7 separate regions of the Homo sapiens genome follow, and regions 1, 2, 3, 4, 5 and 6 are each linked to region 7. Evidence: promoter capture Hi-C in human tissues and cell types (Jung and others, 2019). All regions are on one chromosome and are shown on one strand. Each heading gives the region's core, a stretch centred on a gene start or on the middle of the fragment in contact. The rest is flanking DNA. Distances are from core to core; before and after follow the strand shown.

Evidence for each region. The method cuts DNA at HindIII sites, captures the fragments that hold promoters and counts their contacts. A contact is called where the count stands out against the background at its distance.
Region 1: a fragment that was not itself captured here is called in contact with the fragment with the promoter of RCE1 in region 7 in 1 of the 25 tissues and cell types used here (dorsolateral prefrontal cortex).
Region 2: a contact is called between a fragment that was not itself captured here and the fragment with the promoter of RCE1 in region 7, in 1 of the 25 tissues and cell types used here (adrenal gland).
Region 3: a contact is called between a fragment that was not itself captured here and the fragment with the promoter of RCE1 in region 7, in 1 of the 25 tissues and cell types used here (dorsolateral prefrontal cortex).
Region 4: a contact is called between a fragment that was not itself captured here and the fragment with the promoter of RCE1 in region 7, in 1 of the 25 tissues and cell types used here (lymphoblastoid cells).
Region 5: a fragment that was not itself captured here is called in contact with the fragment with the promoter of RCE1 in region 7 in 1 of the 25 tissues and cell types used here (hippocampus).
Region 6: a fragment that was not itself captured here is called in contact with the fragment with the promoter of RCE1 in region 7 in 3 of the 25 tissues and cell types used here (IMR-90 fibroblasts, adrenal gland and small bowel).

What each region holds. Positions count from the first base shown.
Region 1 is chr11:66,533,535-66,537,478 of GRCh38, forward strand. It overlaps ZDHHC24 (zDHHC palmitoyltransferase 24), which reads right to left. Exons shown (of 3, transcript NM_207340.3): 3 at 2,092-3,944. It overlaps BBS1 (Bardet-Biedl syndrome 1), which reads left to right. Exons shown (of 17, transcript NM_024649.5): 17 at 1-64. Among named protein-coding and RNA genes, the nearest start is that of ZDHHC24, 11 kb to the right of the region's middle. The HindIII fragment of the contact is 6,777 bases long and covers 1-3,944 here.
Region 2 is chr11:67,217,877-67,221,722 of GRCh38, forward strand. KDM2A (lysine demethylase 2A) reads left to right here. Exons shown (of 21, transcript NM_012308.3): 9 at 1-8; 10 at 1,412-1,527. LOC124902839 (small nucleolar RNA U13) reads left to right here and starts at 3,032; the gene lies at 3,032-3,140. The HindIII fragment of the contact is 8,883 bases long and covers 1-3,846 here.
Region 3 is chr11:67,250,165-67,254,463 of GRCh38, forward strand. It overlaps KDM2A (lysine demethylase 2A), which reads left to right. Exons shown (of 21, transcript NM_012308.3): 17 at 1-634; 18 at 2,530-2,693; 19 at 3,289-3,447; 20 at 4,039-4,254. Among named protein-coding and RNA genes, the nearest start is that of GRK2, 14 kb to the right of the region's middle. RefSeq lists enhancers at 3,335-4,299, 3,991-4,299. The HindIII fragment of the contact is 4,594 bases long and covers 1-4,233 here.
Region 4 is chr11:66,458,738-66,462,690 of GRCh38, forward strand. No RefSeq gene overlaps it. Among named protein-coding and RNA genes, the nearest start is that of PELI3, 6.2 kb to the right of the region's middle. The HindIII fragment of the contact is 3,279 bases long and covers 7-3,285 here.
Region 5 is chr11:67,319,038-67,323,117 of GRCh38, forward strand. It overlaps LOC100130987 (a long non-coding RNA gene), which reads left to right. Exons shown (of 4, transcript NR_024469.1): 2 at 2,233-2,296. Among named protein-coding and RNA genes, the nearest start is that of SSH3, 18 kb to the left of the region's middle. The HindIII fragment of the contact is 6,804 bases long and covers 1-4,080 here.
Region 6 is chr11:67,162,868-67,167,081 of GRCh38, forward strand. The region is part of intron 2 of KDM2A (lysine demethylase 2A); the gene reads left to right. Among named protein-coding and RNA genes, the nearest start is that of KDM2A, 46 kb to the left of the region's middle. The HindIII fragment of the contact is 3,841 bases long and covers 1-3,763 here.
Region 7 is chr11:66,841,232-66,845,093 of GRCh38, forward strand. It overlaps RCE1 (Ras converting CAAX endopeptidase 1), which reads left to right and starts at 2,210. Exons shown (of 8, transcript NM_005133.3): 1 at 2,210-2,409; 2 at 2,528-2,630; 3 at 2,725-2,808; 4 at 3,055-3,133; 5 at 3,638-3,805. The coding sequence starts at 2,225. TOP6BL (TOP6B like initiator of meiotic double strand breaks) reads left to right here. Exons shown (of 15, transcript NM_001302084.2): 14 at 1,618-1,838; 15 at 1,938-2,285. The coding sequence ends at 2,003. RefSeq lists silencers at 407-533, 1,751-1,890, 2,001-2,440 and an enhancer at 2,081-2,787. The HindIII fragment of the contact is 26,172 bases long and covers 1-3,862 here.

The sequences.
Region 1 (3,944 bases), core at 1,394-3,893, 310 kb before region 7:
ATTACTATGTGAAAGTTAACTGCGGAGCCAAGAGTTGGACTATAATTAAATTACCTTCCTTGTACTTTCTTTTTAATGGAGTTAATGAGTTGCCCTGAGTTTCTCATTTACTTTGTTTTCTGATGGACTGATTGCTAATTCTTCCCCCACCATCTGACAGCTCCTCTTTTTTCTAGACACTTCCCTTCATCCCCTGCTTCACTGAGGACTGTTTGTTTTCCAGGTAAATTGCCTTTGCCTCTCTCCTGGGCTAGATCCTGATTCCTGGGCCTGATGGCTTCCTATTTCTCAGTTCACCCTCATTTGGTGAAACATATCCTCAAATATCTTCTTTAAAAAGTCATGGCCAGAAGGCTGGGCACTGTGGCTCACGCCTGTAATCCCAGCACTTTGGGAGGCCGGGGCAGGCGGACCACCTGAGGTCAGGAGTTTGAGACCAGCCCGGCCAACATGGTGAAACCCTGTCTCTACTAAAAATACAAAAATTAGCCAGGCGTGGTGGCAGACACCTGTAGTTCCAGCTACTTGGGAGGCTGAGGCAGGAGAATCGCTTGAACCCGGGAGGCGGAGGTTGCAGTGAGCTGAGATTGTGCCACTGCACTCCAGCCTGGGCAAAACGAGCGAAACTGGCTGGGCGTGGTAGCTCACACGTGTAATCCCAGCACTTTGGGAGGCCGAGGCAGGCAGATCACAAGGCCAGGAGTTCGAGACCAGCCTGGCCAACATGGTGAAACCCCATCTCTACTAAAAATACAAAAACTAGCCAGGCATGGTGGCAGGCGCGTGTAATCCCAGCTACTTGGAAGGCTGAGGCAGGAGAATTGCTTGAAACAGGAAGGTGGAGGTTGTAGTGAGCCAAGATCGCGCCACTACACCACTCTAGCCTGGGCAAGAGCGAAACTCTGTCTCAAAAAAAAAAAAAAAAAAAAAAAAAAGCGAAACTCTGTCTCAAAAGAAAAGAAAAAAAAAAAAGTCACTAGAGGCCGGGTATAGTGGTTCACACTTGTAATCCCAGCCCTTTGAGAAGCCAAGGCAGGAGGATCGCTTGAACCCATAAGCTGGAGACCAGCCTGTGCAACATGGTGAGACCCTGTCCCTACCAAAAAAAATAAAGTCATTAGAGTTTTTAAAGATTTTTTTCATTTATTTTATTTTATTTTATTTTATTATTTGTTTTTTGAGACGGAGTCTCACTGTGTCGCCCAGGCTGGAGTGCAGTGGCGCGGTCTCGGCTCGCTGCAAGCATCACCTCCCAGGTTCACACCATTCTCTTGCCTCAGCCTCCCGAGTAGCTGGGACTACAGGCGCCTGCCACCATGCCCGGCTAATTTTTCGTATTTTTAGTAGAAACAGCGTTTCACCGTGTTAGCCAGAATGGTCTCGATCTCCTCACCTCGTGATCTGCTAGAGTGTGCTGGCGTGATCTCGGCTCACTGCAACCTCTGCCTCCCGGGCTCAAGTGATTCTCCTCCATCAGACTCCCGAGTAGCTGGGATTACAGGCATGCACCACTGCACCTGGCTAATTTTTGTATTTTTAGTAGAGACAGGGTTTTACCATGTTGGCCAAGCTGGCCTTGAATTCCTGACCTCAGGTGATCCGCCTGCCTCAGCCTCCCAAAGTGCTGGGATTACAGGCATGAGCCACCACACCTGGCCTGGACACAACTTTTGTTTTTGTTTTAGTTTTTTTGAGACAGAGTCTAGCTCTTGTCACCCAGGCTGGAGTGCAGAAGCACGGTCACAGCTCACTGCAGCCTCGACCTGCTGAGCTCAAGCCATCGTCCCACCTCAGCCCACCCCCATCCCCCACACTACAGACGCACTACCACACAAGGCTTTTTTTTTTTTTTTAAGACACAGGGTCTCACTATGTTGTCCAGGCTTGTCTCAAACGCCAGGCCTCAAGTGATCCTCCCGCCTCAGCCTCCCAAAGTGTGGGATTACAGTGCCCAGCCCCCATTAATTTTGTATTTTGCAGAGACAGGGTCTCACTATGTTGCCCAGGCTCACAGTCTATTTTGATAGTGCATGTATAATAGCATACGATATCAGATACTTAAGAATTAATCCAATTTAAAAAGGCATGATCTTTATGGGAAAAGGTACACAACTTTATTGAAAACATTGAGTGCAGAAATAAACCCTGCTCATGAATGGGAAAATTCAATTTTACACAGGTGCTGATTTTATCCAGACTGATCTATAGATTCAGCTGGGTTCCATTCTACATCTCAAGGGGTTTTTGGGGGGAATTTGACAAGCTGATTCTCAAGGTTACATGGAAGAGCAAGGGCCGAGACTAGAGTTTAGGAGATGATTCCCAAAGGGCACAGGGGCAGAAAAATGACCAGTGGAACCACATAGAAAAATCAATTATTGTATTTTCAATGGATCACTAGGCAGCAGGGAAAAGGAATGCCATACAGCTACACACAATAATCCGGATACATCTCAGGAACATAATCAAGTGAAAAGGCAAACTGTAAAAGAATAAACTCTGCATGATTTCATTCATATATTTGAAAACATGCAAAGCCAACACAAACACATTAATAAAACTATAAAGCAAAGCAACGGAATGACTGAAACAGGACAGTGTCTCCCCCACCAGGAAGGGGCAACAGCAGGAACTTCGAAGGAAATGGTAACCTTCTCAAATGCAGTGGGGCTGTTTCCTCTTAATTTTTATAAATGTGTTCTTGTAGCTCCTCACTAATTAAAAACAACAACAACAACGAGTCCAGGCATGGTGGCTCACACCTGTAATCCCAGCACTTTGGGAGGCCAAGGTGGGCAGATCACCTGAGGTCAGCAGTTCAAGACCAGCCTGACCAACATGGTGAAACTCCATCTCTACAAAAGTACAAAATTTAGCAGGGCATGATGGTGGGTGCCTGCAATCCCAGTTACTTGGGAGGCTAAGGCAGGAGAATCGCTTGAACCCAGGAAGTGAGCCAAGATCGCGCCATTGCACTCCAGCTTGGGCAACAGAGAGACTCCATCTCGAAAAATAAAACAAAACACACAAAAAAACATGAAAATAAGATATTGTGGGCTGGGCGCAGTGGCTCATACCTGTAATCCCGGCACTTTGGGAGGCCGAGGCAGGTGGATCACCTGAGGTCAGGAGTTCCAGACCAGCCTGACCAACATGGAGAAACCCCGTCTCTACTAAAAATACAAAAACAATTAGCCGGGCATGGTGGCACATGCCTGTAATCCCAGCTACCGAGAGGCTGCAGCAGGAGAATCGCTTGAACCCGGGAGGCGGAGGTTTCGGTGAACCAAGATCGCATCATTGCACTCCAGCCTGGGTAACAAGAGTGAAACTCTGTCTCAAAAAATAAAAAGAGAAAGAAAGAAAATAAGAAATTGTGGAGGGCGAGGGATGAAACAGGACAAGGTGAGTCTGCTAATGCGTCTGTGCAGCCCAAAGTGCCAGGTACACCAAGTTCCTCCTGTCATTAAAAAATAGCAACAGAGCATGCCTGTTACAAAAACAACCAGCCAAGCAGCTCAGATCTTTGTGGGCATGGGCAGAGCCTGTCAGAGGGTGGGTTTCTCTGAAGGTTCTTGGGGGTCAAGCATGTTCTTTCATGGGAGGCCCCCCAGCAGTATCTATGGACTTTCACTTAACCCCATTTTTTGGTCTAGCCTCTCACCCACCCCTCCCCAGTACGCCTAAGACCCGAAGCTTCTCTGGTTCCATTTATCCTTCAAATAATCCTCACGTCACACCACCCCACCCAGAGGTGTAGCTGCTGGCTGCATGATGTGGGTGGGGTGTGGGTGGGATGTGGGGGAGCGGCACCCCACTGATCCTTACATAGACTTTCCATCGGTCCCCATTGTTGGCCGAAGCCTCACCTCACCCTCCATGGTCCTGGTGGAGTTCCTGAGCCCCTCCGGGGCTCTGGCAGGTAATTCCACTTGCCTTTTGGC
Region 2 (3,846 bases), core at 1,166-3,665, 380 kb after region 7:
TCCCTCAGGTAAGCAAAATGGGAAGAGTGGGTTATTTAGCCATTTTTTTCCTTAATGAAAAAGAAATTGATGGATTACCACCAAGAATAGTTATGATGCTGGGCGTCTGCAGAAAACAACAGTGTTTCTTCCTGTCATTATGGAATAGATGCTGAGGTTTTGTTTGTTTTGTTTTCAGTTTGAAAAGGCAGTGGTTTTCCAATAAAGTATATGAGAATTGCCAGCAGAGGCTTTTCAGGTATACACGTTTGGGCTCTGCATTAGCCCTAGTAATTTAGAATCTCTATAGATAGGACCTGTTCTGCAGGTGATACACAATCTATGTTGAAGAACTGCCTACTATTCTAGGGAATGGCTGTGAAGGCTGGAGTGCTCAGTCAGGGATGTTTTTGATCAAGTCATTAAATCAAAGTAAGTGCTTATAAAGATCACAGATTTTGGAGTCACAGACCTCTATTAGGATTCTGACTATGCATTTACCTGCTAGATACTACGCTTAGAGCAAATATTTAAATCTGTGTCTCATTTTGTTATAAGGAATATAAATGAGAACACATGTAAACCAAGCTTATCCAACCTGCAGGCCACAGGCCTCATGCAGCCCAGGATGGCTTTGAATGTGGCCTAACACAAATTCATAAGCCTTCTTAAAACATTATGAGATTTTTTTTTTTGCAATTATTTAAGCTTGTCAGCTGTCATTAGTATTAGTATATTTTATTTTATTTATTTATTTATTTATTTTGAGATGGAGTCTTGCTCTGTAGCCTCAGGCTGGAGTGCAGTAGCGTGATCTTGGCTCACTGCAACCTCCACCTCCCAGGTCCCAGTTCAAGCAATTCTCCTGTCTCAGCCTCCCGAGTAGCTGGGATTACAGGTGTGCACCACCATGCCCAGCTAATTTTTGTATTTTTACTAGAGACGGGGTTTCACCATGTTGGCCAGGCTGGTCTTGAACTCCTGACCTCGTGATCCACCCGCCTCAGCCTCCCAGAGTGCTGGGATTATAGGCGTGAGCCCCCGCGCCAGGTCATGTTAGCGTATTTTATGTGTTGCCCAAGCAATTCTTCTTCCAGTGTGGCCCAGGGAAGCCAAAAGATTGGACACCCCTGAATTGTAAACTATCTTGTACAGAGCCTGGTTTATAGTTGGTGCTCCAGTAAACGTTTATTATGTGCTAAGCATTTGATGTGCATTTTCTCATTTAATGCTCATGAGCAACCATAAGAGGTATTATTTATCCTGGTTTTATAGAGGAAATTGAGGCTTTGAGAGATTAAGTAACTTGACAAACCACTAAGAAGCAGAATCAGAGTGAAGAGTGTGATCTAGGGGTCTTGTACTAGTTCTCTGAGAGAGACTTACTGTAATGTGTGTTTTCAGCCACTGCCCTCTGTTCCCCTTCTCCTAGGCTGGATTCATGCTGTGTATACTCCTACAGACACATTAGTGTTTGGGGGCAATTTTTTGCATAGCTTCAACATCCCTATGCAGTTAAAAATATACAACATTGAAGATCGGACACGGGTAAGTAATCTTATGTAACAGTTGCATGTGAAGAGGTTTACTCCAGTTATGATAGATGTTACAAGAGATTCACTGATGGTTTATCAAAACTTCCATTTTTCTTTCAGTTAAAATGCAGTGTTGACATTTTGGGAACACACAAAATTTTAAATTTAATTTTTTTTTTTTTAAGGCAGAATCTTGTTCTGTTTTCCAGGCTAGAGTGCAGTGGCGTGATCATGGATGATTGCAGCCTCAACCTCCCAGGCTCAAGCATCTTCCTGCCTCAGCCTCCCAAGTAGCTGGGACCGTGGGTGCACACCACATCTGACTAATTTTTAATTTTTTTCGTAGAGACTTGGTCTCACTGCGTTGCCCAGGCTGGTCTAGAACTCCTGGTTCAAGCAGTCCTCCCACCTCAGCCTCCCAAAGTGCTGGGATTACAGGTGTGAGCCACTGCGACTGGCCAAATAAAAATTTTAACACGATTTACATACTCCGTTTTAGGGACTCCAATTCTGTGAGGTTTTTGGTATCTTGGATTTCTTTTTCTTTCCTTTTTTTAAAATTTTATTTTATTTTATTTTATTTTTTAGCCAACACCATAGTGAATGGGAAAAAGTAACATTTTTTTCTTTTAATATTTGGGACAGAGTCTCACTCTGTTGCCCAGGCTGGTGTGCAGTGTCACAGTCATGGCTCACTGCAGCCTCAACCTCCCTGGGCTCAGTTGATCCTCCCACCTCAGCCTCCCAGGTAGCTGGGACTACAGGCACACGCCACCACATGCAGCTAATTTTTTTGTATTTTTTGGAGATGGGTTTTTGCTGTGTTGCCCAGGCTTGTCTTGAACTCCTGGGCTCAAGTGATCTGCCCGCTTTGGCCTCCTAAAGTGCTGGGATTACAAGTGTGAGCTACTGCATCCCACAGTATCTTGGATTTTTATAAGGCCAGACATTTACCTCTGGTAATCTCTTGAGCCATGTGTTTCATTTTTATGCTCACAGAATAATTTGGTGTAATGGGGCTTATCAACCCAAATTTCAGAACTTTAAATTCATGTATCTTTTTCTACACTGATGACTATACTCAAAGCATCTTACTTTAATTATATAAATGTATATACTGTCTTTCTCAACTGGGGTTTCAAGAGAGAATTAAGCCCAAAATAAAATAATTTGTGTATCTTATTTTCTCATTTTTCTCTAGGATGATACACAGCTAATACCCTTCTAGATGCATAGAAAAAAGTTAATTTATTATATACAATGGATACCTTAAGGCAAGAGTTGACAAACTTTTCCTGCAAAGGACCAGATAGTAAATATTTTAGGCTTCGTGGGTCATAAAGTGTCTATTGTAACTGTTTAACCCTACCTTGTAGCATGAAATACTTAAACAAATGAGTGTGGCTCAAATAATATAAAATTTTATTCATAGACACTGAAAGTTGAATTTCAGATAACTTTAACATGTCACAGAATACTCTTAAATTTTTTTCAACCATTAAAAAATGTAAAAAACGATCCTTTTATATAGTTCATGATCATGATTAGGTGTTCATGCACGTATGTGAAAGATGCCACCCTTGAACCTTGTTACTATTAATACGTCAGCACATTACCTGTCTGACCCGAAAAAAAAAAAAAAAGGTAAAAAACACTCCTAGTTCACAGGAATCATAAAAAGAGGCAGCAGGCCAAATCCACTAAGTGTTGTTTGCTGGCTAGCCTCCACCTTAGAGAATGAGAGCTTATTTTTTAGCAGAATTCTAATTGGTAAGGGCTGAATCATATATGAAAGTATAGATGATACTGGGATTAAACAGCAATTAGAATATTTGGGGGTTGTGATGTTTGTAAGTTACTCTCAAGTAGCTTAGCAGAATACTAAGCTAGTATGGAGATGAGCAGATGTGGAGAAATGTTAACAGTTGGAGAATTGCAGAGAAGAGTGTAGAACTATTAATGCTACTGCTCTTGAAACTTTTTGGTAGAATTAAAAGTATTAAAAATTTTAAAATAACAATTAATGAAGAATTCACAACTTTTATATGAATGGTCTTTTATATATTATAGGAATGGTCACTGACCTATGTACTGCAATAATAGTCAACCATTATGGTGCCTATTTTGCAACATTTATTTTGGTGTAGGAGTTACGTATCACTATACACATCATTGATATTATTGTTGGAGTTACAGGAATTGCCCTACTAGTAGAATTAAGAGAGGAAGCCAGTGCTTCTTCAACACATTTTATAAAAGTACATTTCTTTTTATTTGTTAAGAGTAACAAAAGTACAGTTCAGGCACAGGGGCTCATACCTGTAATTCCAAC
Region 3 (4,299 bases), core at 687-3,186, 410 kb after region 7:
TCACGCCCCCGCCTCATTCACCCACTTCCATGCTGCAGCTCATCCATGACCCGGTTTCCCCCCGGGGTATGGTGACTCGGTCATCCCCTGGGGCTGGCCCCAGCGACCACCACAGTGCCAGCCGCGATGAGCGCTTCAAACGGCGGCAGTTGCTGCGGCTGCAGGCCACAGAGCGCACCATGGTACGGGAAAAGGAGAACAATCCCAGCGGCAAAAAGGAGCTGTCTGAAGTTGAGAAAGCCAAGATCCGGGGATCGTACCTCACTGTCACGCTACAGAGGCCCACCAAAGAGCTCCACGGGACATCCATTGTGCCCAAGCTGCAGGCCATCACGGCCTCCTCTGCCAACCTTCGCCATTCCCCCCGTGTGCTAGTGCAGCACTGCCCAGCCCGAACCCCCCAGCGTGGGGATGAGGAGGGGCTGGGGGGAGAGGAGGAGGAAGAGGAGGAGGAGGAGGAGGAAGATGACAGTGCAGAGGAGGGGGGTGCAGCCAGGCTGAATGGCCGGGGCAGTTGGGCTCAGGATGGAGACGAAAGCTGGATGCAGCGGGAGGTCTGGATGTCTGTCTTCCGCTACCTCAGCCGCAGAGAACTTTGTGAATGTATGCGAGTGTGCAAGACGTGGTATAAATGGTGAGCAGGGATTCAGGGGGTCAGGAATTAGGGGTATGGGAGTAGGTGGCAGGTTTTCCATATGAGAACAGCATGCACCTTGGCATCTGAAAGCCTGTGGGGTCTTATGAGGAGTGAATTGACCCTTTTTCCCAAACTTTGGGTCCTGTTTAAAGATGTAGCCTGTTGTACCCGCAGATGTCATTAGGGAACTGGCCATTTGCCTCCTGGCCCTGCTCTATACTTTCCCATGTCTCATTGTTATGGGGAGGGAGACTGATTTGCGGGATAGATTTGTAGTCTGTGATAAAACTTGAGAGTCTTGCGGGCTGAAAATTTCCTCCTCAAGTCAGCTGAACTCATCACATGTTGGTTGAGAGCCTATGATGTTCTAGTCACTCTTCTGGTGCTGATAACACAGATAACCTCACTTAAGCCCCTGACTCAATTACCTCTCCATTCAGTGAGAGAAGTGGGCATGCTTTTCAAGATGAATTTGAAGGTGCTTAACATTTTTCTTCAGTTTTAATGCTCATCCCCCCAAACCTGGATCAGAATTCCCTCTTCCAGCAAGCAGAGTCCAGTTTTGAAGCTTCCTTAATGAGAGCTACCATTTCTTCTTAAGTTGGACAGACACTTGGGGGAAAAAATTGCTAGTGATGATGAACAAGGAGCTTCCCATTGGGCATTGTTGGTTTTTCCTTAAACTCTGGTATATATTTACTCTAGGATATATCCTTTTTATCTGGGTCACACACATCCTATTACAGTAGTGTGGTGTCCTGACCAATGGCATTCACTCAGGAACTTTTTAGAAATGTCAACTGTCAGGACCCTCATAGGCCTCTTAAATCAGAACCTCTTGGGTGGGCCCAGCAGTCTGCTTTAACAAGCGCTCCTCCAGGGGACTCTGATGCATGCTCGAGTTTAGAGCAGCAAAATCTGCTGTATTGTCAGCAGCTTGCTTCTGCCATAGAAGCTTCATGTGCCACTGGTAAAATTGTTTCAGTCTCTAAATAGACCCTATTCTTTGCAAACATGAGTTTATTTCCCAAATCTGAATTAATGTATAGTGTATCTAAATTCTCCTTAATATTTCTCTGTCTAGGGCTAATAGGACTGCTTGGCTCTACCTCTTGGTTTTCAGGGCAAGGCACATCAGATTCCCGTTATGTGCTGTCTCTCTTCCCCTGCCAACCAGGCTGGGGGGCAGGGGCTATAAAATATTAAATTGAAGCCAGCATGTTGTGGTTTGTGGCCTGTAGATTTGTAGACTGCAGTGGAAAGCCAGGCCTATCCCTTTCAGTTCTGGTCTGGCCTGGCTAGAAAATGTCAGGATAGCACTGAGGCAGAACTTGAGGGTGAGAGAGGACTCTGTAAGCCTGATAAAGAGCCTCTTTTGACCTGATACAGTAATGGGCTGAAGGCAGGGTGAATTGTGGATGTGCTGAGTAGCACCCTGCATTTCAGGCAGCTGCGAGTGATTGACAAGGGAGGGAACGGAGCAGGCCTTCTTAGCTTTAGACAGTAAGAAGTCTAGAAACTTCAAGAGGCTCCCTTATATACACTTCAGCAGGAACCATGCCATTTTAATACAGATGAAGGGGCTATAGACTGTTGCTTGCTATGGGTCCCTAACAACTGTTGTGTTCTCAAACACTCCAGAATAAATCAGGGTAAAGTGGTCAAGTTATATACTATCAACATGTAGGTTTGCAAAGCGTCTAGTTGTTGTAGAGTTCAAGGCAATTTTTTGCCTATTCTGTGAGGCAAAAAATGATAAGGTGTGATCCCTGTACACTTGTAGAAGAACGAGCCTCCAGGTACTCTGCTTTTCCCAGAAGCCATAAGCAGCCTGTGATGGGAGCTCCACTGATCAAGTTAATGAAGGCGAGTTCTCTTCCCTTCTATCACAGGTGCTGCGACAAGAGACTTTGGACAAAAATTGACTTGAGTAGGTGTAAGGCCATTGTGCCCCAGGCCCTCAGTGGCATCATCAAGAGGCAGCCAGTCAGCCTTGACCTCAGTTGGACCAACATCTCTAAAAAGCAACTGACATGGCTCGTCAATAGGCTGCCAGGTAAGTGAGCAGCCCTGCCGCTGTCTTTCCAGGGGCCCAGAAGAAGCGGGCAAGAAAAGTTGCATTATTGGCAGTGCTTCTTAGCATCACTGGAGGGCAGTGTAGGGCAGCAGTCCCATGCCATTGTTGCTTAGCAAGAGGTTTACCCAGGGCCATCTTAAGTGTCAGTCTCCCAGGCAGCACTCTGGACTGGCAGGCCAATCACTGCAATGGACAGCAAAGAGAACGGAATCAGTGTTGCTGCCAGCCCTGCAGTTCTCCTCAGCATAACCACTAAAGAGGAAATTTGAGTCAGATGTTACTTTGGTCAGCTCCTTATAAGCCCTTGTTCTCTTCAGCATTTTGAGCTCTTAGAAAGACAGGAAGTCACTCCTTCTTGTATTGCTCTGGTGGGAACTAAGCAATCAATTTACCACTAAAGCTAGAAGATGTAGTATAGGATACCATGGAAATCTTTGAGCTGGATGACTAAAAGATTAGGCATAGTCCTTCTCTCCTATTAGACTGGAAGTTTGTTCACTTTGCTCAGATCGTTACGGCTCTGAGTATGCTGGGAAACAGTGTATTATTACATGTCTCATTCCATCCATTGCAGGACTGAAAGACCTCCTCCTAGCAGGCTGCTCCTGGTCTGCAGTCTCTGCCCTCAGCACCTCCAGCTGCCCCCTTCTCAGGACCCTTGATCTTCGGTGGGCAGTAGGAATCAAGGACCCTCAAATTCGGGACTTGCTTACTCCACCGGCTGATAAACCAGGTATGCTCTGGACCTGACTTCTCTGTGCTTGTCTTGGGGTAGCTTTGTCTTCCAAACAGACCTCGTCTTCAGAAGCTAAGGTAGTCTCAGATATGACGCTGTGGAAGAATAGAAGAGCACAAAATGAAAACAGAATGATGGACTGTGTACAAGAATAGGGTAACTATAAGCAGATAACTACCTACAAACAATGGAGTAAGTCCATTTTGTGAGTTGGTGGAGTTTGGGGCCCAGAGAGTGTAAGCCTGAAAAAGTCTGAGAAGGCTTTATGGTGGAGGTGGAGTCAAAAGCTATTTGCATGATGGTCTAGAAAAGTGTGGTGGTATTGGAAGGGGAGGAGCATTCTGCACATAGCCTTTTGCTGTGTGCATGAGGCATAATCTAGCAGCTTGAGAAGAAAGAAAACTTGTCTGGTTTCCTAGAAACTGCCTACACCCAGTGCTCACACCCTGAAGGCATGGCTGGGTGTGGGCAGTTCTACTTAACCCCTTCAAGGGGGCCTGGCCAGCAAGTAGCTGTTGCTGCCTGGAGCCTTGAAGCTGGATTAGAGAATTGAGAGTTTTGATCTAGGCTCTTCTCTTGCCTGTACAGGTCAGGACAATCGCAGCAAGCTCCGGAACATGACCGACTTCCGGCTGGCAGGCCTTGACATCACAGATGCCACGCTTCGCCTCATAATTCGCCACATGCCCCTCCTGTCTCGACTCGACCTCAGTCACTGCAGCCACCTTACAGATCAGTCCTCCAATCTACTCACTGCTGTCGGGTCTTCCACTCGCTACTCTCTCACAGAGCTCAATATGGCAGGTATGCCGCTACAGTTGTTCATAATCAGCGGTGCCCCCTGCCTCC
Region 4 (3,953 bases), core at 396-2,895, 380 kb before region 7:
ATCACAAGCATAGCACCAAAGGGATGGTGCTAAACCATTAATGAGGAACTGCCCCACCAATCATCTCCCACCAGGCCCCATCTCCAACATTGGGGATTACATTTCAACATGAAATTTGAACAGGGACATATATCCAAACTATATCACGAGGTCTCACTATTGTTGCTCAGGCTGTTCTTAAACTCCTGGACTCAAGCAATCCTCCCACCTCGACCTCCCAAAGCTGCTGGGATTACAGGCATGAGCCACTGCTCAGCCTCACTGTGGCTTTTGTCTTAGACTCTTGGGTCACTTGTTTGGGAGAATCCAGCTGCCGTGTTGGTGTTGTAAGAACATTCAAGCTGTCCTCCAGAGAGGTCCACATGAAGAAGAACCCAGGCTTCCTGCCAACATCCAGCGCTCACTTTCCAGGCATATGAGTGAGCCTCTGGGAAGTAGATCACCCGGCCCTCAAGCTTTCTTATGACTAAAGTCCCAATTGACTTCTTAACTGCAACCCCATGAGACACTTGAGCCAGAACTCAGGTCCCAGCATAGGAAAACAGTGTATTTCATGGCAAATATGACACCATCTGGAAGTGAAACTCTTGTGGTGACTGATGTTTGACCCCCACATACCAAGGTGCTCTGCAGTAAGCTCTTTAAACAACACCTTCTAGCATAGAAAGCCCCTCACAAAGATGCTTATCTAAACCCCGCCAGTGGTCATGGATCTTGGCAAAAAGAAGTCTGAAGACGTGACCAGCTGCACATGTTTTACCCTAAAAGAGAAAGGATACCTTCTGGAGTGTGGGTGCAGGGATCCATTGTCTTGCAGCCGCCTAAGACATCACTTCTGTTTCTAAGTCATTAAATGTTTCTTTCTGAGAAACTGGATTTGTCAGTCTCTTTCTTCAGCCTCTCAGCTTTCTTGGACTTTGGGGGTAGGTTTGCATGGAACTGCTCATAACACTCAGCTAAACTGCTTTCAAGTTCGTGATTCCTAGAAACTGTATGAGATTAAACACTTACTCTTTTAAGCTGCTTAGATTGGGATAATTTGCTACTCAGCAATAACTAAGACAGATTTGGTGCCAGCTGGGCACAGTGGCTCACACCTGTAATCCTAGCCCTTTGGAAGGCTGAGGCAGGAGAATTACTTGAGCCCAGGAGTTCAAGACCAGCCTGAGCAACATAGTGAAACTCTGCCTCTACAAAACATAAAAATAAAAATTAGCCAGGCACAGTGGCATGCTCCTGTGGTCCCAGCTAATCAGGAGGCTGAGGTAGGATGATTGCTTGATCCCAAGAGTTTGAGGCTACAGCGAGCCATGACCATGCCACTGCACTCCAGCCTGGGCGACAGAGCCAGCCAAAAAAAAAAAAAAAAGATTTAATGCCAGGAGTGAGGACAATAAAAAATACCTAAAAATGTGGGAGTAGTGAGCAGAGGCTAGAAAGACTTTAAGTATAGTGTTAGCAAAAGTCTGAAAGCCTTTGTATTAGTCATCCACTGCTGTATACCAATATACCACAAACATAGCAGCTTAAAACAACACACATTTATTACTTCAGTTTCTGTGGGATCAGGAGTCCAGGCATGGCTACGCAGAGTCCTCAGCATAGGGTGTCACATGACTTCAATCAAGGAGTCTGCTAGGGCTGTGGTCTCATCTGAGACTCAACTGGGGAAGAATCCTCTTTTTTTTTTTTTTGAGACAAAGTCTCACTCTGTCGCCCAGGCTGGAGTGCAGTGGCGCTATCTCGGCTCACTGCAAGCTCCACCTCCTGGGTTCACACCATTCTCCTGCCTCAGCCTCCCGAGTAGCTGGGACTACAGGTACCCGCCACCACACCCGGCTAATTTTTTTGTATTTGTAGTAGAGACGGGGTTTCACTGTGTTTCACTTTCACTCCCAAAGTGCTGGGATTACAGGCGTCAGCCACCGTGCCCAGCCAAAAAAAAAAAAAAAAGATTTAATGCCAGGAGTGAGGACAATAAAAAATACCTAAAAATGTGGGAGTAGTGAGCAGAGGCTAGAAAGACTTTAAGTATAGTGTTAGCAAAAGTCTGAAAGCCTTTGTATTAGTCATCCACTGCTGTATACCAATATACCACAAACATAGCAGCTTAAAACAACACACATTTATTACTTCAGTTTCTGTGGGATCAGGAGTCCAGGCATGGCTACGCAGAGTCCTCAGCATAGGGTGTCACATGACTTCAATCAAGGAGTCTGCTAGGGCTGTGGTCTCATCTGAGACTCAACTGGGGAAGAATCCTCTTTTTTTTTTTTTTGAGACAAAGTCTCACTCTGTTGCCCAGGCTGGAGGGCAGTGGCACGATCTCGGCTCACTGCAACCTCCACCTCCTGGGTTCAAGCAATTCGCCTGCCTCAGCCTCCCTAGTGGCTGGGATTACAGGAGTGCACCACTACACCTGTCTAATTTTTGTATTTTTAGTAGAGATGGGGTTTCACCATTTTGGCCAGGTTGGTCTTGAACTCCTGACCTCGGGTGATCCATACACCTCAGCCTCCCAAAGTGTTGGGATTACAGGTGTGAGCCACCACGCCCAGCCCAGAATCACTTTTGTTGGCAGATTCAATTGCAGCTCCAGGACTGAGGTTTTTTTTTTGTTTTTTTTTTTTTCCTTCTGCTGGCTGCTGGCTGCAAACCATTCTCAGCTCTTAGAGATCACTCTTGGTCCCTGATACATGGGCCTCCCCATATGGGAAGTGCACAAAATGGCAGCTTGCTTTTCTAAAGCCAGCAAGGAGTGAGAGAGACCCCAGCAAGACAGGTGCTACAAACTTATATAACATAATAACATCACTATGTGCATGTAATCAGGCACAACCCATCACCTTTGCCATATACTGTTGGTTAGAAGAAAGTCATAGGTCCTGCCCACCCACATTCAAGGGAAGGGGTTGACATAAAGGTGTGAATACCAGGAGTGAGGGATCATGGGACTACTTTAAGAAGACTGATGGCCTTAGAGAAGGCTGATAGTGAAAGCTGAAAGGAAAGTGGGAAAATATTATTGGATCTCAAGGGAAGGAGATCCTTGTTGTATAGTGGCAGGTAATTTAGCAACATTGTCATCCTTCATAATGTGTAGATTGGTATGGTAGCTCCTACCTGCAATCTCGACAACTCAGAAGGCTGAGGCTGGAGGATCACTAGGAGTTTCAGAACGGCCTGGGCAACATAGCTAGACTCTATCTCTAAAAAAATGTTTTTAAATAGAAATAAACTAAGCTGGGCATGGTAGCATGTGCCTGTAGTCCCAGATACTGCAGAGGCTGAAGCAGGAGGATTGCTTGAGCTCAGGAGCTCAAGGCTGCAAGTAATGCACCATTGCACTTCAGCCTGGGCAACAGAACAAGACTCTGACAAAAGGCAAGGAAAGAAAAGGAAGGGAGGGGAAGGGAAGGGAAGAAAGAAGAAAAAGGTAGAAGATGTGCCTAATGAAATATGTGATCTAGCTAAGGAGATTTCCAGGCAAAATGTTACAGGTAGTACCTTATTTCTTCTTCCTGCTTAGAGTAAAACATGAGAGTTGAGAGGCAAGTTATAAACTGACAGGAGCTCTGTTAAACCAAAAATAGTTAGAATTTGATGATTTTGAAAATTCCCAGCCTCAGCCAGGTGCAATGGCTCATGCCTGTAATCCCAGCATTTTGGGAGGCTGTGCAGGTGGATCACCTGAGGTCAGGGCTTCAAGACCAGCCTGACCAACAAGGTGAAACCCCATCTCTACTAAAAATACAAAATTAGCCAGGAGTGGTGATGCATGCCTATAATCTCAGCTACTTGGGAGGCTGAGGCAGGAGAATCACTTGAACCCAGGAGGTGGAGGTTGCAGTGAGCCGACATCACACCATTATACTCCAGCCTGGGCAACAAGAGCAAAACTTCGTCTCAAAAACAAACAAACAAACAAACAAAGAAGAAGAAGAAAATTCCCA
Region 5 (4,080 bases), core at 707-3,206, 480 kb after region 7:
GCCTCCTGAGTAGCTGGGACTACAGGCGTGTGCCATCGCTCCCGGCTAATTTTTGTATTTTTTGTTAGAGATGGGGTTTCACCATGTTGGCCAGGCTGGTCTCAAACTCCTGGCCTCAAGAGATCTGCCCGCCTCGGCCTCCCAAATTGTTGGGATTACAGGCGTGAGCCACCACACCTGGCTAGGCAGGATGGTTTTATAGGCTGATTTTGATGGGGAAACTTGAGTCTTTTCACCCAAGGTTGGATGCTCAAGGCCAGTGTATTGCCTCCCTTCAGCTGTAGGCTGAATTATAGCGTTACCACACAGCATTTAGGGAGGATGCAGGCTTAATGCCACATAGTAGGGTGGATACTTAAGATTCATAGAGGATGTGAGTACTTATGATGCAAAAACAGCTGAATATAGAATTATGTATTTACATAAGACTGGTTACTTTCATGGTTATAAAGAATGCGTAAGAATTCTATGCTGCTTGCATTGAGTTCAAGCTTTGTGTTAATTGAGAAAATTGTAACAAGGAGTTTTAAATTAATGAAAAAAGTATTTTAAAAATCTGGGAACATCCAATAATTTCACGAACAAGCCTTCATTCGTCCAACAAACATCTTTATATGGAAGCTATATTCCGTGAAATTTTTTTTTTTTTTTTGAGACGGAGTCTTGTCTCACTTTGTCTTTCAGGCTGGAGGGCAGTGGTGTGATCTCGGCTCACTGCACCCTCTGCCTCCTGGGTTCAAGCGATTCTCCTGCCTCAGCCTCTCAAGTAGCTGAGATTACAGGCACACGCCACCATGCCTGGCTAATTTTTGTATTTTTAGTAGAGATGAGGTTTCACCATGTTGGCCAGGCTGGTCTTGAACTCCTGACCTCAGGTGATCTGCCCACCTCAGCCTCCCAAAATGGTGGGATTACAGGTGTGAGCCACCACGCTTGGCTTTCCATGAATATTTTTTGAGCACCTACTGTGTACATGGAACTGTGCAGGGTGCTGTGAGGGATATGAAGATGTATAAGACACTCTCTGCCCTCAGGAAATACAGTCTAGTAGAGGAGATCAATTATGCATTTAAAACATATAAAATTCAAGTAGAAAGTGATGTGTCATAGAGAGGTCCAGGTTACTGCTCTGAAGATTCAGAGGCAGGAGAGATCGCTGTCGAGTCACACTGTGTAATGAGAGAATCAAGAAGACAGCTTCTGAACCTCCTAAAGCATGTAAACAATGTGGATATGCCAAGAAGTAGGGAAAAGATATTCTGGGCACCCATTCCATAGCTTTGAGATACATGAAGAAGAGCTATCTGCAGCCCTGATTAAATGGTGAGCTTCTGGGAGGCAGGGACTAGATTTTGGTCAGCGTTTTCCTCCCCTGATTGGCACATGGTTGCCATGGTAAATATTAGTGAATGAATAGGGGCTATGAGTTTCCTGTAGAGAGGAATGGAGCTGTGGTCTCTATATTACCCTGAAGCTCTTTTATTAGACTCACCTGCTGTCTCAGAGCCATTCTTCTAGGGGAAGGAAGCGAATGGGCAGATGATTATGGGGCAAGGGCCATATTGTTGGCATCTTTGGCACAGTACCAGCTGAGAGCCCAGGGAACAAGGTCTCATCAATGGATAGGGGGTTTGTGAGCCTCTTTCCCTGGAACTAAGGTGAAGAACCATGAGGGAAGGAAACGGAAGCATAGGACCATGCAGCAGTCCTCAGGCCAGTGATGGACACTCCCTTGACTCTTGTGTCCATTCTTGGCTTTTCTTTTTCTATGGCTCCTTCCTAGGGAGATTTCTCTCCCATCTGTGACCCAGTTGGGAGTGGGAAACTGTGTCCACCATGCCAGCAGATTGCCAAGGCCTGCCGCTGCTGCACAGGAAGGAAGCTGACTTCAGCCAGGGCCCTGCCATTCTCCAGTTCTGTCCAGGGCTGAACCTGCCCTAGGAGCTAGCCTTGAAGGAGACCCCTTAGAGACAGGTGTCTAATGGCCTGTGGAGGGGAGAATGACCTCAGGAGCTGGGATAGCAAAAGTAGAAAAGGTTGAAAGGAGAATGGCTTGAGGACAGGGCAAATCCTCCCAAGTCCTGTTTAATTCATCCAAGGTCTAGATTCCCCGTGGAATGTTTTGTTGCTCAGAAGGTGGAGTCATCCTTAGAACAAGGAAGCTGGGGAGAGATTAAGCAGGTGCAACCAGACAGGGGATAGAGCACAACTGGCTGTCCTTTTTGTCCCTAGATATGGGATGCTGGAGGACATCTGGGGGCCACAAATGCTCCTTCTCCTGGAGACGCAACTCAAGGTGAGCCTTTACACCATCCTTCTGGCAGCCCGTGCTCCCTCTCCAGAGAATGGTTCTTCCTTTTCATCCTCCTTTCCCACTTCACTCCCGCTCCACAGGCTGCAGGTAAGGGCCTGCAGTGTGTATCAGGATTTCCTTATAGCTAAGTGCATGTGAAGCCTGAGTAGCTCCAGGCCTGGTACTTGATAAGAGGTTATGACAGCCCAGTGCCTGCCATGGAGGCCTCTGTCCACCTACTTCAAGGGCGTTATGGTCCTATACAGTTTACTAAGCACTGGCACTTACATGTGATCTCATTTGACCTCAACAGCTGTAAGGTCTTGTATTGTGACTTTCACTTTTCCACGTGAGGGATCTGATTTCTTAGGTTGTAGGTCAAAGAACTAAATGATGCCACTGAGAGCAGTGATCTTTCCACCACCTCCATAATCACTGACAGGGTGCCATCTGCCTGCTAGTGAGAGCACGGTCCTAGGTTAACCTGAAACTAGACCAAGACTCTCCTTTGTTCCCATTTCAGCTAGAATTTACTGCCCATTTTCCTCAGCGTCTTATCTCAGCACAGCTTCTGCCTGTCATTGGACAAGTTTGATCTGAGTTTCTCTCTCACTCTCATGCTCTCAGTACATGCTGACTTGTTCTCAGGGCACTGAGAACTTGTGCTCTTCCCCTTGACTCTGCCAGGTGCACCCTCTCCCAGATAGGCACCCTGGGTAGCTGTGAGACTTCAGGGGATTCTGTATCTGGGTTAGAGAACCAGGAATAGGAAAACTGTTCTCCCACTGGGTGGGGAAGGAAGTTAGCAAAAGTTTGCCTGATGGGATTGGCCTGGATAGTAATGCTACACCCTATGCGACCCCATCTCATTGGCAGCCCTGGCAGAGCAGCTCAGTGAGCCACAGAGGTAAAGGTGGAAGGTGAGTGCGGCAGGGAATGTAAAGGCTCAGGCTAAAGGCTAAAGCAGGGTCCCACCTGCTGGCATAACTCAAGCCAGAGCCATGGAGGCGGAGGTGGGAGACAGGTTTGGGTAAAGGAGGATGCCCCTGGGGAGAGGGAGCTGGTTATATGCATCCTACCTAATTTATCTTCATATGGCCTGAGAAGGCTTGGAGCTGGCCTGCTTTGCCCAGAACAGCAGCAGCCTGTCTCCCCAGGCAGCACACACTGCTGTGCAGCTCCTCTCTTGGTTTGGCAGACCGACTCCCATCCTCTGATGGCCCTCGAGAGACCTTTTTCACACCCTCCACCCTGCCTGGTGGCTCAGCTAGATGCCTCCCGCAGCTCTGTCCACCGTCTGAGATCTGATCATCCCAAATGTTCCTATGCCAGGCTGAACTCTGCCTTCTCAGAATGTCCTCACTCCTGCCAACCCAAAGCTCTTATTTTCAACACAGAAATGGGAAATTGGGAGGGAGGCTGAGTGCCATGGGGCCTAGAGCATGTGGTTTGGAGGCAACCAATGGAATCATTTTGGGGTCAATGGGATGCCTGAGCTGATAAGCAGAGATCCCCCGTCCCTACTCCCGAATATCCCTGTGGTGGGTGGGGCTGTGTATAGCAAGGCCTATATGCAGCAAGATCCACAGGTGGTCCTCACTTGCCTACCCCACCATCCTGCTCCAGCTTCACCCTCACCCTCCACCTCAGCCCTGTTCATTCCTCTCTTCCCTCTTTCCCTCCTCTCCTCCCTCTAGGTAGTGCAAGCAGCAGCTGTTGACCCTAGGGGCACATATGCTTGCCTGGCCTATCTGCACTTGAGCTTCCTACGGGTGCCCATCTTGGCC
Region 6 (4,214 bases), core at 593-3,092, 320 kb after region 7:
CTTGCCCAGCTAATTTAATAAATTTTTTAGAGATGGGGTCTGGCATTGTGTCCAAGCAGGTCAAACTCCTGGCCTCAAGTGATCCTCTTGCCCCAGCCTCCCAAAGCGTTGGGATTATAGGCTTGAGCCACCAAGCGTGGCCATGATTTCTTTTTCTTAAAGTTAGGAATTGAACTGTATCCTACTTTTGTTAGTTACTTCTCTTCTCCTTTAGTTTGTTTTCAGCCTTCTGCCCTAGTCAGACTGATATCCAGAATTTTGCTCTTGCATAACTTCATTGCTACTCTGTCTTCTAGCGCTACACTTTCGTATTTATGTTTGACCTTCCTTCAAACTCTCTTGAAGGATCAGCAGCTGCATAACCAACTCTACCACTTAGGGCAGGGCCTTCTCAAATAACATCTTGCAGAGATGGCCACTTCATATTAAATCGGTGGCAGGATACAGTTGTTGAATTTCATAAAATTTCATCCCTAGGATTAGACATTTGATATGAAGAGATTTAGAGATGGAATCATAAAAGAGTTAATTCCAAAAGGTATGGACTTGGAAAATTCTATGACTTGGAATGATAAAGAAGGACATTTAATGCCATTGGAGAAGAGGCAAGTATGACTTATCTCTAGCCACTTAGGCCATTCTTTTTGGGACATACAGTTGATTTCCAGTCCAATGTAGAATCATGTTCAAAATCACAATTGCTGGGCCAGATGCCGTGGCTCACGCCTGTAATTCCAGCACTTTGGGAGGCCAAGGCAGGCAGATCATGAATGAGGTCAAGAGATCGAGATCATCCTGGCCAACATGGTGAAACCCCGTGTCTACTAAAAATACAAAAATTAGCTGGGCGTGGTGGTGCGTACCTGTAATCCCAGCTACTCGGGAGGTTGCAGCAGGAGAATCGCTTGAACCTGAGAGTCGGAGGTTGCAGTGAGCCGAGATAGCACCACTGTACTCCAGCCTGGTGACAGAGCGACACTCCATCTTAAAAAAAAAAAAAAAAATCACAGTTGCTGATATTTTTTGAGTATGTGCTAGATACTTTACATCTTTCATTTAATCCTCATACAACCCTGTGGAATGGCTTCTGTTATTACTAGTTAAGTAGGTCAGACACAGTGAGAGGCTGAACCAGGATTTGAACTCTAGAAACCTGGTCTGGACCCTGCCACTACTCTATACAGCCTCTTTTTATATATAAGGCCACATTTGCAAAGTATTTGTATATATGTTTTCATTTAAACATCACAGCCATCCTGTGCATTAGGTGACATTCTTGACATTTTCACATGAGAAAATGGAAGCTTAGGGAATTTGAAGCTCAAAGTGGCAGTGCCTAGACCCAGACCTACTTCTGACTCTAATCCATTTGTTCTTCTGATTATGTAGTTTTGCTAAACATAGTAAATATAGGTTCATACCTGAAAGTGAATTTTTGATTTCAGATATAAGAATTTTAGCTTGATTGAAGATGATTTCTTAATGTTTTAGATGGGATACTTAAATCTGGAGAAGTTTAACAGAGATGTGATTATTAACTTACATTTTTAGTTTCTCTGGTGGCTTGTGTATAACTGTTCATTAAGTGTTGATCTTGCTATTGGCCTTTTTTTGTTGTTGTTGTTTTTTTGTAGCGATGGGACATTGCTCTTTTACCCAGGCTTGGTCTTGAACTCCTAGTTTCAAGTGATCCTCTACCATGGCCTCCTAAAGCACTAGGATTACAGGCATGAGCCATCACACTTGACTGCTGTTGGACTTTTTTTTTTTGGAAACGACATCTTGCTCTGTCGCCCAGGCTGGAGTGTAGTGGCACAATCTCGGCTCACGGCAACCTCCACCTCCCAGGGTCAAGCGATTCTTCTGCCTCAGCCTCTTGAGTAGCTGGGACTGGTTATTTTTTGTATTTTTAGTGGAGGTGGGGTTTCACTATGTGGGCCAGGCTGGTCTTGAACTCCTGATCTCAAGTGATCTACCCACCTCGGCCTCCCAAAGTGCCGGGATTACATGTGTGAGCACCGCGCCTGGCCTGCTATTGTACTTTTTAATGATGTTAGTCAGTTTACCACTCTTAGAGTAACTTTCTTAGGTAATTTCAGCGATGAAGACATAGTTTTCTCTGCTTTAACTTTAGTTGGTGCAGATGGGGTGACTGAACACATAGAAGGAAAGAGGTCTTGCCAGGACTGTAATGTAATGGTGGTAGTGGGACGGGTAGGAGTATATGTGTTTGAAGGGAGTAATTTAGAATACCAACTTTTTTTTTTTTTTGAGACCGACTTTCACTCTTGTTACCCAGGCTGGAGTGCAGTGGCGCGATCTTGGCTCACCGCATCCTCCACCTTCTGGGTTCAAGCAGTTGTCCTGCCTCAGCCTTCCTGAGTAGCTGGGATTACAGGCATGCGCCGCCACACCTGGCTAATTTTGTATTTTTAGTAGAGACGAGGTTTCTCCATGCTGGTCAGGCTGGTCTTGAACTCCTGACCTCAGATGATCTGCCCACCTCAGCCTCCCAAAGTGCTGGGATTACAGGTGTGAGCCACCGCACCCAGCTTAGAATACCAACTCTTGATCTTATGCCAGTTCCTTCTAAAGCTTCTACTCCTAGATGTGAAATTTCATAAATCTTAAGTTTGACAGTTTGAAATAGAGGTCATTTGTTGATTAAGAGACTGACCTTTGTCTATGAATCAAAACATTAATCACAGCTCCAGAGAGAAGGATCATGTAGGAAAGCTTCCTGATGAGAGGAATGTAGCAAAGCTGGAAAATAGGTGCATTTATAGACTATCTTCTGGTTTCAAGTGACTGCTTGCTATCTCCCTTAATTCACTTAAAGACTTAGGAGAAACAGCATGTGTGACAAATTTCATGGTTTTTATCATTAACCAAGCAAAGATCTAGAGTTAGTGTTTTTTAAGACAAGCTGTTCTTTCAGGTTTATAGTAACCTTTCTTGACTGGCAAAAAGAAAGGTCACTCTTACTTCCCCTTTAGATTTACGGTCAACTTTTAGGGGTTTTTTCTTTTTCCATAACTTCTTATTTGTATAATACTTTCATTAATCCTTATATTCTAGGAACTAAATTGGCATGACCAGTACCATGTATTATACTGATGACTTAACAGTTGCATCAATTATAAAAGGTGGTGAAGAAACTAGGCATTATCTTTGTTTCCCTTTTCTGTGTTTGTTGATACAGAAATCAGGCAGTAAACAGAAGTATTCAGGGAGTATTTGTATTTCAGTAGGTGTTTCACTGGCTAATGAAAATCAAGTTAAAAAATTGGTTGACTTTCAGGAGAAACAATATTTCTCTTTTTTTTTTTTTTTTTTTGAGACAGTCTCACTCTATCGCCTAGGCTGGAGTGCAGTGGTGTGATCTCGGCTCACTGTAATCTCTCCCTCCTGGGTTCAAGTGATTCTCGTGCCTCAGCCTCCCAAGTAGCTGGGACTATAGGCACATGCCATCATGCCCGGCTAATTTTCACATTTTTTAGTAGAGACAGGATTTTGTCAGGTTGGCCAGGCTGGTCTCGAACTCCTGACCTCAAGTGATCCGCCCGCCTTGGCCTCCTAAAGTGTTAGGATTACAGGAGTGAGCCACGGTGCCTGGCTGAGAAACTGAATATTTCTGAGTTATATTATTGTTTCCAATAGTAGTATTTGTGTATGAGGGTGGAGTGGGGGTGCTTTAAAGATTACTTCTTGCCCGGCATGGTGGCATAAGACCTGTAGTCCCAGTAACTTGAGAGGCTGAGGCAGGAGGATCTCTTGAAGCAAGGAGTTCTGGGCTGTAATGCAGTATACAGATCAGGTATCTGTACTAAGTTTGGCATCAATATGGTGACCTCCCAGCAACTGGGGACCAAGAAGGGAGTACACTGGTTCAGGTTGGAAACTGAGCAGGTCAAAACTCCTGTGCTGGGCTGAGCGTGGTGGGTCATGTCTGTAACTCCAGCAATTTGGAAGGCCAAGGCGGGCGGATCACTTGAGGTCAGGAGTTTGAGACCAGCCTGGCCAACGTGGCGAGACCTCGTCTCTACTAAAAATACAACAAATTAGCCAGGCGTGGTGGTGCACGCCTGTAATCCCAGCTATTCAGGAGGCTGAGGCAGGAGAATCACTTGAACCTGGGAGACGGAGGTTGCAGTGAATTGAGATCATACCATTGCACTCCAGCCTAGGCGACAGAGCGAGACTCTGCCTCAAAA
Region 7 (3,862 bases), core at 960-3,459:
CCTCAGCCTCTGAGTAGTTGGGATTACAGGCGCCCACCACCATGCCCAGCTAATTTTTGTATTTTTAGTAGAGACGGGGTTTCACCATGTTGGCCAAGCTGGTCTCAATCTCCTGACCTCGTGATCTGCCCGCCTCGGCCCCCCAAAGTGCTGGGATTACAGGCATGAGCCACCGCGCCCGGCCAAGAGGCCTCTCCCACATCCAGGCGCTCACAAAGGCCTATCACTTAGGCCTGATGAACACTTCTGATTCCTGGTGACGCCTCTATCTCCACTGTCTTTACTTGTTATTGGGCTCTTAAGGTCTTCCTGTCTCTAGTTTGATCTAAGCCACACCTTTGAAAGAACGATCTTTCTGAAGTACAAAATTACCAATATATTTCACCAGTGCTTAAAACTCTTTATTGGCTTCCTGTCTTCTACAGATGAAAATCTGTTTCTAGCCAGGCAAGGTGGTGTGTGCCTTTAGTCCCAGTTACTCGAGAGGATGAGGCCGGGAGTTCAAAGCTGCAGTGAGCTACAATCACGCCACTGCACTCCAGCCTAGGTGACAGGCGAGACCTCATCTTTAAAAAGTAAAAATTTACATAGGAAGTTGTTTTATGCCTTTGCATAAGGTTTGTGTTAACTTTCAGCAAGAAATTCCCTTTCTCTCCCTTGTCTGGCATATCACTCTTCATCCTTCAAAACCCAGCTCTGGGGCAGGAGTGGTGACTTATGCCTGTAATACCGTCACTTTGGGGAGCTGGGGCGGGAGGACAGCTTGAGACTAGCCTGGGCAACACGGTGAGACCCCTGTCTCTACAAGTAAAAAAAATTAGCCGGTGTGGTGGCATGCGCCTGTGGTTCCTGGTACTCTGGAAGCTGAAGCTGAGGCAGTAGGATCGCTTGAGCCCAGGAGGTCGAGGCTGCAGTGAGCCAGGACTGAGCCACTGCACTCCAGCCTGGGCAACAGAGCAAGACCTTGTCTCAAAAAAACAAAAGGTCAGCTCAGGTATCTCCTCATGGAAACCCTTCTTCACATCCAGAGGTGGTCGGCTTCCTTCTCTATTCTAACCCTGGGCTTTGTACACAGGTCTGCATCCCCTCCTAGCATCTGTGAGCTTCTCTCAGGGAAAAGCTCATTGATCTGCATCCCCAAGACCTGCTGGGGAAGAATCTATCCATCTAAACTCGCTTTAATTTGACAAATGAATCAGTTAAGAGTAGGAAAGCTGCCTATGGGCACTGCTCAATGCAACGTGAGCAACAAAGGGAGACAGAACTGAGGCCAGAAAGGTGAGGGGGGACAGAGGCTGGCAGGGAGGGGAGCTTGTCAGTGCAGACTCCAGGAAGAATCTATACAGAAAGTTACTGAGCGGCCTGAGTCCCCCAAGTGAGGGCTCGGGACAATCTCCCGCCTGGGTGAGAGAATAGGGAGACCCTGAAACGTCTCTGCAGCCTCGGGCTGCTCCAGAAGCGCCCACAGCTGCAGGGTTTTGGTGTGGATGGGACCTGCTGACAGGGATGCGGTGGGAAGAGCCCCTCGGCGCCCGTTCTCCCAGGCTTCCCCTTGGCCAAGGGTGCTCCTAGCACAGGGCCATGAAAGTAAGATGAAGAGGCTTGTTTTTCTCCTAGATACCAGCGGGCAAGCAGAAAACAAGAGGCTCAAGAGGGGCAGCCCCCGCATAGAGGAGATGCGAGCTCTGCGCTCTGCCAGGGCCCCGAGCCCGTCAGAGGCCGCCCCGCGCCGCCCGGAAGCCACCGCGGCCCCCCTCACTCCTAGAGGAAGGGAGCACCGCGAGGCTCACGGCAGGGCCCTGGCGCCGGGCAGGGCGAGCCTCGGAAGCCGCCTGGAGGTAACTGGGCGAGGGCCGCGCAGGGAAGGGCTCAGCAGGAGGTGCAGGCCACGGGCCGCTGCTGAGAGGTCCTCACCCCGGGCCCCCTTGTTCCCGCAGGACGTGCTGTGGCTGCAGGAGGTCTCCAACCTGTCAGAGTGGCTGAGTCCCAGCCCTGGGCCCTGAGCCGGGTCCCCTTCCGCAAGCGCCCACCGATCCGGAGGCTGCGGGCAGCCGTTATCCCGTGGTTTAATAAAGCTGCCGCGCGCTCACCAAGTCCTCTTCCGCGTCTGCTTCCGCGTCGGGCCCGGGCGGGGCGGGGCGGGGCGTGGAGCCGCGCCGCGGCCTGACGTCACCCACACCTCCCTGGGACTGCGTCACTGGTGCGCGCCGCGGGTCAGGGCGCAATGGCGGCGCTGGGCGGGGATGGGCTGCGACTGCTGTCGGTGTCGCGGCCGGAGCGGCCGCCCGAGTCGGCGGCGCTGGGCGGCCTGGGCCCCGGGCTGTGCTGCTGGGTGTCAGTGTTCTCCTGCCTCAGCCTCGCCTGCTCCTACGTGGGCAGCCTCTACGTCTGGAAGAGCGAACTGCCCAGGTGCGGGGGCTGCGCGCGACCGGAATCCGCGCCCTGCGGGCGGAGCTTGGGCGAGCCGGGGGCGGGTCCGTGCTCATGGGCAGCCGCGGGCCCCCTGAACTTACTGTCCCCTCCGTAGGGACCATCCCGCGGTCATCAAGCGACGCTTCACCAGCGTCCTGGTGGTGTCCAGTCTCTCACCCCTGTGCGTGCTGCTCTGGAGGGAACTCACAGGCATCCAGGTGCGAAGGAGGCGGGGCAAAGGGCAACGGCGGTGAGAGCTCAGGGGTCTTTAGGGGAGGAAGCAAAACTGATGCCCCCTTTCCTGTGGCTCAGCCAGGCACATCCCTGCTCACCCTGATGGGCTTCAGGCTGGAGGGCATTTTCCCAGCGGCGCTGCTGCCCCTGTTGCTGACCATGGTGAGTGCTCCTGCTGTATTTTTTCTTCTGGTCTTTGTTATCAGCCTGATGGGCAGTGCCGTGGACTCTTGTTTTTGGTTTTTGGTTGATGGGAGACAGGACTTTTGAGATGGCCCCAGGGTCCTCCGGTATGCATGGTCTGGAAATCGTGGCTGGAGAGGATTTCAAGCTTGGAGTCTCAGGGAGCATGGGCAAAGGTCTGGGCAAAAGCGGTGGGTTATGGTGAAAGTGTTTTCTTGCCCTCAGATTCTTTTCCTGGGCCCACTGATGCAGCTCTCTATGGATTGCCCTTGTGACCTGGCAGATGGGCTGAAGGTTGTCCTGGGTGAGTCTTAAAGGCTGAAGGGAAAAGTAGGCACAGGCAGTCCAGGACATTGGGGCAGGGAGTCAGCGGGCTCAGGGTGTGATCTGGACACGTGAAATGTCATCTCTCTGGGTGTGTTTTCTCATCAGTAAAATGGAAACATAGAGCTAGGTGGCCTCTAAGGGTTGATTGCCAACGTCCAAGGAGTTCCCTGGGAACCCCCAGCAGTATTTGGTGTGGATCAGAGAGCACTGTCCCCTGCTTCCCCAACCAGAGCTAGTCTTGCTTAAATTTTGGTGTCTCCAGAGTTTACTTCCAGGATGCCCTTGCCTCAGCTAATGCCTTCCATTCAGGTCATCTCAAGACATTGGGTTTATGTTGGGTCCACACCCCCGTCCTCAGCAGTATTGATGCCTAACCTGAGTTTGGCCAGGGTAAAGTTGTGGGAGAGGAGCCCTTGGAGCCTCTGGGGTCTCACTGTCTGACAGCCCGTCACTCACAGCTTGTCCTGAATTCCCTCTGCAGCCCCCCGCTCCTGGGCCCGCTGCCTCACAGACATGCGTTGGCTGCGGAACCAAGTGATCGCCCCGCTGACAGAGGAGCTGGTGTTCCGGGCCTGTATGCTGCCCATGTTAGCACCGTGCATGGGCCTGGGCCCTGCTGTGTTCACCTGCCCGCTCTTTTTTGGAGTTGGTGAGTCTGGCCAGATTAGTCCTGGTGTGTTTTCAGCATGAGAGCTCAGAAGGGGGC